Regions from separate parts of the Homo sapiens genome. Here all the other regions are linked to region 1. The links are contacts of gene promoters, found by promoter capture Hi-C in blood cells and fetal thymus (Javierre and others, 2016). All regions are on one chromosome and are shown on one strand. The core of a region is centred on a gene start or on the middle of the fragment in contact, and the rest is flanking DNA. Distances in the headings are between cores, read along the strand shown. Region 1 holds the start of RAB3GAP1 (RAB3 GTPase activating protein catalytic subunit 1). Region 2 overlaps R3HDM1 (R3H domain containing 1). Region 3 overlaps R3HDM1 (R3H domain containing 1).

The links. The method cuts DNA at HindIII sites, captures the fragments that hold promoters and counts their contacts. A CHiCAGO score of 5 or more calls a contact.
Region 2: a fragment that was not itself captured here is called in contact with the fragment with the promoter of RAB3GAP1 in region 1 in 1 of 17 cell types (fetal thymus); the score reaches 5.5 in fetal thymus.
Region 3: a fragment that was not itself captured here is called in contact with the fragment with the promoter of RAB3GAP1 in region 1 in 4 of 17 cell types (naive CD4 T cells, total CD4 T cells, non-activated CD4 T cells and 1 more); the score reaches 7.2 in naive CD4 T cells.

Annotation. Positions count from the first base shown.
Region 1 is chr2:135,049,380-135,053,857 of GRCh38, forward strand. It overlaps RAB3GAP1 (RAB3 GTPase activating protein catalytic subunit 1), which reads left to right and starts at 2,913. Exons shown (of 24, transcript NM_012233.3): 1 at 2,913-2,946; 2 at 3,051-3,106. The coding sequence starts at 2,929. RefSeq lists an enhancer at 3,486-3,625. The HindIII fragment of the contact is 10,130 bases long and covers 1-4,478 here.
Region 2 is chr2:135,569,922-135,574,210 of GRCh38, forward strand. All of the region lies in intron 1 of R3HDM1 (R3H domain containing 1), which reads left to right. Among named protein-coding and RNA genes, the nearest start is that of R3HDM1, 41 kb to the left of the region's middle. The HindIII fragment of the contact is 3,744 bases long and covers 810-4,289 here.
Region 3 is chr2:135,647,117-135,651,387 of GRCh38, forward strand. R3HDM1 (R3H domain containing 1) reads left to right here. Exons shown (of 27, transcript NM_001378107.1): 17 at 2,786-2,887. Among named protein-coding and RNA genes, the nearest start is that of MIR128-1, 16 kb to the right of the region's middle. The HindIII fragment of the contact is 3,290 bases long and covers 1,171-4,271 here.

The sequences.
Region 1 (4,478 bases), core at 1,663-4,162:
CTTGAGCTTAGTTGTTTGAGACCAGCCTGAGCAACATAGTGAGACCATGTCTCTGCAAAAAATAGAAAAAATTGCTGGACGTGGTGGTGGGCACCTGTAGTTTCAGCTACTCAGGAGTCTGAGGCAGGAGGATTGGTTGAGTCCAAGAGTTTGAGGCTGCAGTGAGCTATGATCATGCCACTTCACTCCAGCCTGGGAAACAGAAAGACATCCTGTCTTTAAACAAAAAAGGAATCCTCCTTTTGTCTCTCATTTTGAGATAGAGTCATTCAAACCATTCTCTTTTTCAAGAAACTCAATGTTTAGAAATAGTGGAGGGATAGGCATACAAAACAAGGACAATATCAGGCTGCCCTAGGGCTGTGTCAAAAGCTCTAAGGAAGCATGGAAGGGGAGTGTCTGACTTCCTGGGTTGAGGGTGGGGGATGTATGTTTGCCTAGGGCTGCTTGAACAAAATGCCACAGACTGGAAGGCTTAAACAACAAAAATTTATTTGCTCACAGGGCTGGGCGCCGTGGTTCACACCTGTAATCCCAGCACTCTGGGAGGCCGAGGAGGGTTGATCACCTGAGGTCAGGAGTTTGAGACCAGTCTGGCCAATAAGGTGAAATGCTGTCTCTACTAAAAATACAAAAATTAGCTGGATGTGGTGGCACATGCCTGTAATCCCAGCTACTCAGAAGGCTGAGGCTGGAAAATTGCTTGAATCTGGCAGGTGAACGTTGCAGTGAGCCAAGATCTCACCACTGCATTCCAGCCTGGGTGACAGAGCAAGACTCCATCTCAAAAAAATATTTTTTTATTTGCTCACAGCTCTGAAGACTAGAAGCCCACGACCAAGGTATCAGCAGGTTGGGTTTCTCCTGAGGCCTCTCTCCTTGGTTTGCAGGTGGCCACCTACTCTCTGTGTCCCCACATGGCCTTTCCTCTGTGTGTGCACATCCCTGGTGTCCTAATCTCTTCTCATAAGGACACTAGTCAGATTGGATTAGGGCCCACTCTAGCGGCCTAATTTTAACTTAATCACCTCTTTAAACACCCTGTCCATAAATACAGTCACATTTTGAGGTACTAGGAGTTAGGGCTTCAACATATGAATTTTGAGTGAGAATCCAATCGATTACCACCAAACTGGTTGCAAATACAAATAAGCTCCTAACAGGGGGCAGAGAAAGTCTTCACAGAAGAGCAAATATCCAAGCTGAAACTTGAAGGACAAATTTTACCAGGTAAACTATAGACACAAGGACATTGCAGATTCTAAACGACAGCATGTCCAGAGGAAAGAGAAAGCACAGGATGTCGAAAACATTGTAGGTGCATGTTAAAAGAGGCTGTCTATTAAAAGAGAGTGGCAGACACAAAAGATGTGCTGCTCAGACCTCCCTTAAAGAAAGACTCACTGCCCAGCTGTAAGGCGTGTGGTTAGATGAACAGCCTACGGCTGTTGGGTTTATCAGGTTTGTCTAACTGTTGAGCCAAGGACCTGCTATTCTTGGAGTGCTTCCTCCAGCCAAAAACTGAGCAAACAGTGATAGCCAAGGCCACTGTTTTCTTGGGGAGATCCTGGCCAATGATTGACGGAGCAAGGCAGTAGTACAAGGGGCTACGCATTTCCTGATGCATAATTTTTGCCCTAGCACTTCCAGTTGGACTTCAGAGACTTCGCCAGCTTGGAATTGTAGTGTCTGCTTTTTTAGAGCACCAGTCTGAAAAAAAAATAGTGAAAAAGCAAGCTGCAGAGTGGGAGAAGGTATTTGCTACATATATAAACAATATAAAGCTCAGATGCAGAATATATATAAATAACTTGAAGGTGTTAAAATAAAGACAAGGCCAGGCACAGTGGCTCACACCTGTAATCCCAGCACTTTGGGAGGCCGAGGGGGGCGGATCACAAGGTCAGGAGATCGGGACCATCCTGGCCAACATGGTGAAACCCCATCTCTACCAAAAATACAAAAATTAGCTGGGTGTTGTGGCGCATGCCTGTAATCCCAGCTACTCGGGAGGCTGAGGCATGAGAATCACTTGAACCCAGGAGGCAGAGATTGCAGTGAGCCGAAATCGCGCCACTGCACTCCAGCCTGGCGACAGAACCGAGGTGGGCAGATCATGAGGTCAGGAGATCGAGACCATCCTGGCTAACACGATGAAACCTCATCTCTACTAAAAATACAAAAAATTAGCCGGGCGTGGTGGCGAGCGCCTGTGGTCCCGGCTACTCGGGAGGCTGAGGCAGGAGAATGGCGTGAACCCGGGAGGCGGAGCTTGCAGTGAGCCAAGATCGTGCCACTGCACTCCAGCCTGGGCGACAGAGCAAGACTCCGTCTCAAAAAAAAAAAAAAAAAAAAAAAAAAAAAAAAAAAAATGAAGCGTTTGTTGAACACCATGTTGCTCTTCCCAGAAACCAGGTAACTAGTATGATTTTATTTCAGGACAATCAACTGAGCAACTTCTTGCAGGGTCAGGGGCAGAGGGTAGAAGTGGTATTACAGCACCTAGTTTATTGCCTTACAATCAATAAATAGAGGGTGAATGAAAAGAAACCCAATAGTTAAAGTGTAAGCTAATTGGTACTAACTACAAATATGGGTTGAATGAAAACAAACCCAACATGCTTTAGGTTTTTTAATACAATCTTATCCACATGAGTTTAGGGTCTTGTCCTATCACCTTGGCTTCTGTTCCCTTTCTGTATTCATCACAGGAAATTTTCAAGTTTTATGAAACCAGCTAGAGCGGAGTTTTATTAACCAGCTGAGGGCGGACTAAAGACTTAACAGACCTGGGCGAAGAAGCAGCACTCCTACTTACTAGGGCAAGACTCATGAACAGGGGGCGGGGGCTCCGGGGGCGGGGACGCGCCCCGTTCTCTTTCGCTCTTCTTCCCGGCAGCCTTAGCGCCAGGCCCGGCGCTCCTCAAGATGGCTGCCGACAGTGAGGTGATTTCTTTGCTCCCTACTTAATCCTTGTCACTATCTAAATTCGTTCCTCATGTCTTCGCCTTGGGGCTTAATTTCTTTTTCTCTCCTTCCCCTTCCCGCAGCCCGAATCCGAGGTATTTGAGATCACGGACTTCACCACTGCCTCGGAATGGGAAAGGTGAGTGAATCGCATTTTTGGTTACCAGCTCCCATGGGCCCTGGCGTCCCCTAGCCGCTTCCCTGACCCCAGACACACCACAAGTGACGCCACTTGTGCGGGAACGGTAATACCGTGGGTCCCGGGTCTCCTCCCCCAGTCTTCTTTGGTCAACCGCAAGCCTCTTCCGCGTCTCGCGTCTGGCAACACCCGGCCCGCCCCCGTCAGCCAATCCCTGAGGCTCAGGCTCTCAGAAAGTTTTGTTTTCTCTCCTGTCAGACCGCTTCCCTTAGACTTTGGTTTTCTGGTTGTTACCCACTCGCAAGAAAAATTTCCGAGGCTGCAACAACCGTTCCGGTTTTCATTACCGTTTAACTCATTATCGTAAGCAGTAAACTTGGTAGGTTGTGCCGCACCTCATCCCGTGTACGTTGGTATACCCTTTTCAGGAGGAAGTCTTTCTTCAGAGTATTGGTAGTTGTCCATCTGTCACACTCCCACCATCTCCATGCTGTCTTTAATTTTTTATTTTTATTTATTTTTGGAGACAGAGTCTCAGTCTGTCCGCCCAGGCCGGAGTGCAGTGGCGAGGTCATAGCTTACTGCGGCCTCGAACTCCTAGGCTCAAGTGAAGCTCCCGCTTTAGCCTCGGGAGGAGCTGGGACCACAGGCACGCGCTATTACGCCCAACTAATTTTTTAAAGATCTCGCTGTGTTGCCCAGGCTAGTCTTGAACTCCTGGGCTCAAGCCTGGGCCGCCCAAAGTGCTGAGATTACAGGCGTGAGCCTCCGCCCATCCTGTCTTTTAGAATAACCTTTTTAAAAAGTCTGCATATGGTTTTGGAATGCTTTGATTTAAGTTGTTACATTAAAGTGGGTACTGTGCCCAGGCTTCCTGTGCCTGTCAAATTCAGATGAACAGCTGTCTGGGTGAAACTGTTCTATTACTGAAATTAGTTGAAAGCCAAGTTTGTGGAGGAGTGATAGCTTAGATCGAGAAGGTTTCTGTTAAGTGTCACAGAAACCCTTCAGTTTCCTGGGTGTTGAAGTCAGTGTTTACGCTGTTACAGCATTTTATAATCTTTCTGGTTGGGAGAGGAAATTTGTGGATGTCGTGTCATTAGGTGGCACAGGAAAATATAAAAGGTCCTTGTTGGAATAATAGTTAGACCTGTGGTACCCTTCATAAAAGTGTCAGTAAGACATAACCACACTGGCAAGACTTCATTGAGTAGGTACTGGGTGTCCAGAGCTATATACAAAGGGAAAAGCAGAAACTTGACCCATATATTTTTAAAAAACAACAAACAGCAAATAGTTAAAATGTAAGCCAGTTGGTACTACCTGTAAAAATAATAATTAAAATAATTATTATTTAAATAGGGGTGATATT
Region 2 (4,289 bases), core at 1,432-3,931, 520 kb after region 1:
TTCAACATGTTAGCCAGGATGGTCTCGATCTCTTGACCTCGTGATCTGTCCGCCTCGGCCTCCCAAAGTGCTGGGATTACAGGCGTGAGCCACCATGCCCGGCCAGTAAGCTCTTTTTAAGTGTTAACTCTTGATCCATTTGTTGTTTTCATTCAAGAATTAGAAAAATCGATTTCCTCAGCTGATGATTTTGAATTAACTATTGATTGTAAACATCTCTTTTATTTACTAGGATATTTGAGATGAGGAATTTTAAACAACTAAATTATTCTTATTTTCTGCCACTTAAGCTTGTGTTCCACCAACTGCATCTAGAATAATTCTCTGACCTTTCATTTGCTACACAAGTTCAGTTATCTCAGTATTAAATGTCATGTAGGGTAGTAAAGTATCTTCCATGTGTAATGATGTGTCTGTATGCTGTAGGAATACATAAGCAAATATTGCCTTCTACTTTGTGGCCCATGTACTTGCAAACAAAAAATCTTTCATTTGATTTCTGTTAGTGATTAGATGACTGTGTTACAGTTACCTTCAGCCTCTCAAGAATCTATTTTGTATAACTTAATTAGCAGCTGAAAAGAGGAGAGAAAACTTGTTTATATACTCAAAGGGAAAGAAGAACTTTTTTGGAAAAACAAATTATGGATTGCATTGTGCATCCCACACCTAATGCTAGAATCAGTTCCCCTTTACAACTGTCTGAGGACCTAGGATAAAAATTAGTTCTCCCAAAGTTGTAGAAATGAGCACAAGAAGATAGAAATTAAGTAATTCACAGACTTCGTTGTAGAGATTATGTGTAATAAAGCTTCTTGCCAGTATTGACAAAGTCCTTGTTGCTCTTACATGCCATCAAATGTACAATTTTATTGTTCCAGGTCCTTTGCTCTTTTATTTAGCTTTGTTGTCTTAATTTTAAAACTATTTTCGTTTTTAAAAAATCATCTAGCCTGAAGTGTCACAAAAGTATTTTCAACGTGTGTGTTGTAGCCTAATGGTGGGAAGACTCATTTAGGCAATGACTTGATCAAAAATTGCATTTTGACCCCTCAGAAAAGTCAATATACTTATTAGCATTTTTTATTTACTTTTCTTGAGGCCAAAAATAACTATACATTGTTTTTTAAAACATGCCTATACTGCCAGAAATTCCTGGAGTTGCGACATATTTTTTTAGTTAATGAGGAATATAAAATGTTTGTTGAAAAATGTTTTTCAAGTATGTCAGATTCAGATAAATTGGGTTTCATCAAATTAAAAAGTTTTATATTTTATAGGATGCCATCAAGAAAGTGAAATATTTTCACAGATGGAAAAAAATATTCACAAACCATGTATCTGATAAAAGATTTACAGGATGTTTACTAGCAAAATTTTATTTTATTATTTTTTTTTAATTATTCATTTATTTATTTTTTAGAGCTGGAGTCTTGCTGTGTTGTCCAGGCTGGAGTGCAGTGGCACAATCTCGGCTCATTGCAACCTCCACCTCCCCGGTTCAAGCAATTCTTCTGCCTCAGCCTCCCGAGTAGCTGGGACTACATGCGCACACCACCACACCCGGCTTATTTTTTGTATTTTAGTAGAGACCAGGTTTCACCACGTTGCCCAGACTGGTCTCGAACTCCTGAGCTCAGGCAGTTCGCCCGCCTCAGCCTCCCAAAGTGCTAGGATTACAGACGTGAGCCACTGCACCCGGCCTAATTTTATTTACTTTTTTAAGACAGGGTCTCACTCTCTTGCCCAGGCCAGAGTGCAGTGGCACAATCACAGCTCACTGCAGCCTCTACCCCTGGGGCTCTAGCGATCCTTTCACCTCAACCCCCAACGGAGCTGGGACTACAGGCACACTCTACCATACTGGCTAATTTTTGTATGTTTTGTAGAGACGGGGTTTCACCATGCTGCCTAGGCTAGTCTCGAACTCCTGGACTCAAGCGATCTACCCGCCTTGGCTTCCCAGAATGCTAGAATTATAGGTGTGAGCCACTACATGTGGCCTGCAGAATTTTATTTTGTTTTATTTTATTTTATTTCGAGACAGTGTCTCACTTCGTCATCCAGGCACCACGTCATCCAGGAGTGCAGTGGTGCCATCTCGGCTCACTGCAACCTCCACCTCCCGGGTTCAAGCAATTCTCCTGCCTTGGCTTCTCCCAGGTGGCTGGGATTACAGGCACACACCACCACGCCCAGCTAATTTTTTTGGTTTTTGTAGAGACAGAGTTTCACCGTGTTAGCCAGGCTGGTCTTAAACTCCTGACCTCAAGTGACCCAACCTTGGCCTCCCAAAGTGATGGGATTACAGGCATGAGCCACTGCACCTGGCCCCAGCCTGCAAAATTTTAAAAAATGATAAAGGACGTGTATACAGAATACATAAGGAGCTCTTATGACTCAATAGTAAAGACACATAACCCAATTTAAAAGGGGCAAATGATCTGAATAGATATTTTTCCAGAGAAGATACACATAAGGCCAATAAGCACATAGAAGGATACTCAACATTTTAGCCATCAAGGAAATGTAAATCAAAACCAAAATTGAAATCAAAACCACAATGAGATACAACTTCATGCCCACTAGGATGACTATAATAAAACAACACACACAAGAATTGGTAAGGATGTGGAGAAATTGGAACCGTCCTACATTGCTCTTGGGAATGTTAAATTGTACACAAATTGCTGGGGAAACAGGGTTGTCATTTTACCCAACAAGTCAACCCAGATATATAGGCAAGAGAAATGAAAACGTGTTCTCACAAAAATTTGCATAATACATGAATGTTCATAGCAGCATATTTATAATAATCAATAGATGGAAACAAGACAAATGTTATCAGCTGACAAATGGATAAACAAAATGTGTATCCATGAAATGGAATATTATTTTCACTGTAAAGGATGAATTGCTGATAAATCCTACAGCTTGGATGACTCTTGATATCACTGTGCTAAGTGAAGGAAATCAGCCACAAAAGACCATATATTGTATGATACCATTTATATAAAATGCCTAGAATAGGTAAATCTATAGAGACAGTAGATTAGTGGTTGTCTCGGGCTGGATGGGGAATGGAGGAATTAGGAGGCAATAGCTAAAGAGGGCAGTTGCTCTATGGGATGATGAAAATATTCTAAAATTGATTGTGATTGTTACATAACTATGAATATACTAAAAAGTATTGAATTATACACTTTAAATGGGCAATTATATGACATGTCGTTTGTATGTCGATAAGCTGTTACCAAAAGAAAATTTTCAAGGAGGACTTCCAAATAGCTAAAGACAGTAGTGGTCATCGATCTACTGCCTCCCAATTTTCCTTCAAATAAATATAGAATAAGAAGGACAAAAATCTATACAGAATTTGAAGACATAGCATAACTTGAAGAGAATTTAAGACTTCAGTATAACTGTAACTAAAAAGAGAGCACTCACCAGATCCTGGCATGTGATCTCTTCATACTCCCATTCAGCTCCTGCCTGCCGCAAGACTTTGTGGCAAGCACAGGCAAAGAAAAATGAACACAAAATGGAGAGGGAATCTTAACGTTATCTAAATGTTCAGCCAGAAGAAGTCCATCCTAAGTCTGAAAATTCTTTTTTTTTTTTTTAAGGTTTCCAAATAGAATAAGAGTAGGGATTATAAGGGAGGGACTTAAAAATACATACAATCTGAAGAGGCAGTCTTCAAAGTGCGTAGCTTATAGGGGAGAAAAAGAAGGTACATAAGAAGAGGAGAAGCACCCTTTGGCAGTTGAGTGGTGAAAAGGTAATAAAGCAAAGGAGGAAATTCAGAATGCAGCAAAACAAAGAGAACCACAAAGTTACAGGATTCATAGCCAACTGTTCCCCCCACAACAAAACAAATAATTGGCAGGACTTTGCTATACTAACAGAAGAGGGCACTGTTAAAATAGGAATCTTGTAAAACATCCCAGTAATATGGTGCTTTAATAAAAAAATTTATAGCAGTAAACACATTTATCTGAAAAAATGAACATAAATGAATTAAATTTCCAGCTCAAAACAAAATTTAGGAAAACAAAGTAAACCTAAAGAGCATACCCAGAAGGAAATAATAAGGATAAAAGCAGAAATTAATGAGGTAGGGAATAGAAAAACAAGACCTAACAAATCTGTATTCTGAAAATTTAAAATTATAAAATAGACAAACGGTTAGCTAACTTAATCATGTAAAGGAAAGGAGTAAAACATAGATATGCAAAATAAGATAAAGCGGTAAATAACCACTAAAAATAATTTTTAAAAAATTTTAA
Region 3 (4,271 bases), core at 1,566-4,065, 600 kb after region 1:
GACCATAGAAATCAGTTAATGTATGTAGAAGAGATTGCCTAAAACTATTTCCACAGACTCCCATATTCCCTTCCCAATCCCATTTGGTTACATACAATGAGCTCGCATAAAACTTCTTCCCTGGCTTTCTCTGCCTTGGCTTCAGTCAGCTTGGTCCCAAAGAGTTTCCTCTTTATTATGCTGTCATGTAGTTGTCTTTGCAGTGCCATGTATTTTACCAGGAGCTTTAAAACACTAATTTTCATTTGGTTTCATTTTTATTTAAATTTCAGTGGAAATAATGTTAATCTGGCAACTTTTAAAAACTCTGGGATTTATCTGTGATTATATATTTCAGATTATTATCTCTTAGAACTTTGTCTGATTTAGTGATAAGAGACAGTTCTAAATGAAGATGTAGGCCACCTAGTTTAGAAACAGATGCTTTAATGAGCTATAATTGGAATTCTTGGGATATTCATCAAATTTCATAACTTATTTTTCTAGCATTGCTCCAAGTTCAGGTAATGCATCATCAGATCCAGAAACAGAGACTCAAAAGTGATTCTCAATGAATACCTTTTGCACAATCTGAAATAATTTATCAATGAGATTGCAAATAACCAAACAAAATAATGCTATGATTTCCAAAGCCTTCAGAAGGGCTACTTTTCTTAGACCTAACGTAAAACCAATTACTTTAGGTGGATGTTGTTTTGCAGCCAGTTGCAATTCAAGTAGGAAAAGGATGTGCTAAGGCTCTTTCTTCCCTAAATGGTGTCAGAATTTCACTTTCATCAATCAATCTTCTAGCCCACAGTTTTTTTCATTACTCTCTGAAATTCGGGAAGACATTAATTCATACCCTTGGTGCTCATAGTACTTTCCTTAATCCCCCAGCTGACTAAAACTTTTGTTTCATCTGACACATAGGAGATCAAGTCATCTGAAAGTTATGTCTTAATGGTTATCTGACTTAATAACACATCAAGTAGCTTGTTCTTGAGAGTTCTAAAGCTATGGCACCTCATGTAGTATAATATGTACTATCATCTGTTAGGAAGCTCACTTATTTCTAGCCATGAGTTTTGTGAGGAACCAGAGGCTACTTCATAGATCTTTCAGCTTTTACTGAAAGATTTTTTTAATGCTTTAATTATAGATTTTTTTGCTTTCTTTTAAGCTTATCTAAGCTTTTGTTTTTTAGAAACCGTTGTGTTGATTTTGTGGTAAAAGTGCAACTCAAATCATTATTATCTATCTATGATGTCATAGACAAACAATGTCTATCTTAGTTGACATAGAAGTTCTCTATTTAAATTATTGCCTGAACAATCTTAATTCCATTAGTTTATCTAACATTTTTAAAGTATTGTCTCTGAAGACAACATGCAGAGATATTGTTCAGAAGGAGATGCATGAATATACATTTTAACTAAGAGTTTTCATCAAGTGAGATTCCCTGGGTTCCTCATCTACTTGCTTATGTGGCTGTCTACAAGTCACTTAATTTACCTTAGTCTAACTGCCTTCTGTAAAGTGGGTTGCTATAGTCTTTAAGCCAATATGTATATTACCGTTTTTGTAATAAACAGTATAAATATGAGAAAATTAAACAGATGCAATTTTAGTTTGTGGATGACCAGCTGTATTCCCAAGATTGAAAAGTGATTACAACTTTAAAAAAAAAAAAAAAAACACCTGTGTTTGAGTGCCCCTGGGAAACATAAAACCCTTTTTTTTCCTGAAACTCAGGAGTATTTCATTAATGGCCAGAGATTTTAAGTAACTAGTTTCTCAGCTCCTAACATGTACTATCTTAATAGAAATGTGTTAATTACAAAGAAAGTGTTTATCTTCCTTATATAAAAGAGGTGTTTGTGTGTGTGTGCATGTGTCTGTATGTATATATGTGTTTGTTGTTCCTTAGGCTATTATTCTTAATAGTTCCCACCATATATATATATTTGGGTTTTTTTTTTTTTTTTTAGACGGAGTCTCCCTCTGGCGCCCAGGCTGGAGTGCAGTGGCGCGACCTCGGCTCACTGCAAGCTCCGCCTCTTGGATTCACGCCATTCTCCTGTCTCAGCCTCCCGAGTAGCTGGGCTACAGGCGCCCGCCACCATGCCCGGCTAATTTTTTGTATTTTTTAGTAGAGACGGGGTTTCACCATGTTAGCCAGGATGGTCTCAATCTCCTGACCTCGTGATCCGCCCGCCTCGGCCTCCCAAAGTGCTGGGATATATTTTTTTACCCAGAGCTTTTTTCTTATAAAATTGCTAAAAGTTAGGGGCTTTGGTCCCAAAAGACTGCTTAATTTCACCTTATCAGTAGGGTAATTGGAATAGTTATTGTGTAAGTTATTACTGTCTGATAGTAAGAATGAAGTTTTTCATTTATAATTTAGTGTTATACTGCAAAATAGGGCAACCCTTTCATAAAACCAGGAAATAATGAGAAGTAGTTTTGCTTTTACTGACTTAACCCGGGGGTCTTTGTTAAATAATAGGATTCAAAATGCCTAAGTCACCTGTTCCCGTTAATCTATAATAAAGAAATATTTTATTGCAAAAAATTATTCTCCTAATTATGTAATAAATTCAGGCGTACATGTTTTTGAAAGTTTTACTGTATTAGAGTTGCTTCACTTTGTATTGTTTTTGTTGTTTCCTATGTTGTTATATTTTAAATGACTTTATAAATGTAGTTAAAGCTATTGCCAAAAAAGTGTAAATTTCCGTTTTATGCAATTCTTCTAACGTTTTATTCTGACATTAACATTGTTTGCCAACCTGTTATTCTTTAGCCTGTTCATCCTCTGCAGTCCTCTTCACAGCCTGTTCAGTACTCTACAGCCCCTTACCCATCCCCGTTCCTGCCAGTCTCACCCACCCAGCAATACTCTGTGGTACTATATCTCTATTCACCTCCTGCGTTGTTTCTGTGGGTGGATGTGTGATGAATGCTCAAGAGTGTCATTAATGTAATATGATCTTTTGTGATTTTTTTTGGGTCAGGTTTACATATGTATCTAAACAAAGTATTTCTAATTCATACTAGAAATAATTTATTCCATAAAATATTGGTTATAGTGGCTTATTATGGTGATTGTTTAACCTTTTCCTGCTTTTTCATAACGAAAGAATTTTCAGGTTGATTATTCTAGTCCTAAGATGTTTTAGCAACTTTCTCATTGAGGCCACTGCAGGATCTGTGCTGCCCTGGGATGGCAGCTTTCATCTGGGTTTAGGCATTCTATTTTCTCCCCAACACTGTAGCTCCAGTAGACCCAGTACCAGTTCTTAGGGTGAGTTGTAGCTTACAGCTACAGAGGACTTCTAAGTATATTTTCTAAGAAGATTTCTGGATATTTAATCTGTGACTGTAAAGTAATGATACTTTCTTCTATCCAAAGTATGCCCCAATTTTTATTGGAATAAGAAAATGACTTTTTTCCAAGGTGACTCTGAGAGTGGTATACAATTATGGTACTTCTGTTAACAATATTTGATCATATAACATTGAAATTACAGTTCATAGGTACATTTTTTTTCCTTTTGACACCATTCACTGAATTAGGCTAATAGTGTTAAAGTGTCAAAGTGACAGTTGGGGAAGAGAAAAACCATATATTTTCAATCATTAAATCAGGCATCTCCTTTCAGTCCTTTATCTTCTCCATAGCCGTAATTTACTTTGGAAAATCCAGCAGATCTAGAAACTGCAGACATGTCAACTTTGATATGATGACTCAATTGCCACAATTTTGTAAGTCATTTTTTTCAGTGTTGACCTTTTAACAAAATGTGGTATATTTTATTGCCAGTCTGTGGTTTCTTGGGAACAGGGAGCATTTTAACCCTATATAATCATTTCAGTGATATTTTTCTGGAACAATAAGAGCTGGTCCTTATCCTGTTGAATTAGAGAAATGTTTGTCAGATAGCACATAAATCATAACCCTTGTCTTGGTAGGGCACCATTTAGTAAAAGCATAGGAAACTGTCATTTGAATTACATTTGTCAAATTATCTGACTTCCAGAACAGATTGAAAAACACAAGGGAAGAATGGAATGTATGGCCAAATTATTTTTGAAAGATTAGAGAAAGGACTGTAGTGGATTTTATGTATTTAATTTCTGCAAATAATTTTCGTGGTTAGGGATACAAAAATGCATAGAATTTGCATTTTGCCTTCTAGGAAGAGGGGAGATAGTTTAAAGCAAATACTAATTAGTACCTTGCTCATTGCTTGGTCTTTGAAGTCCTTTCAGAAAATATTAATTGTATA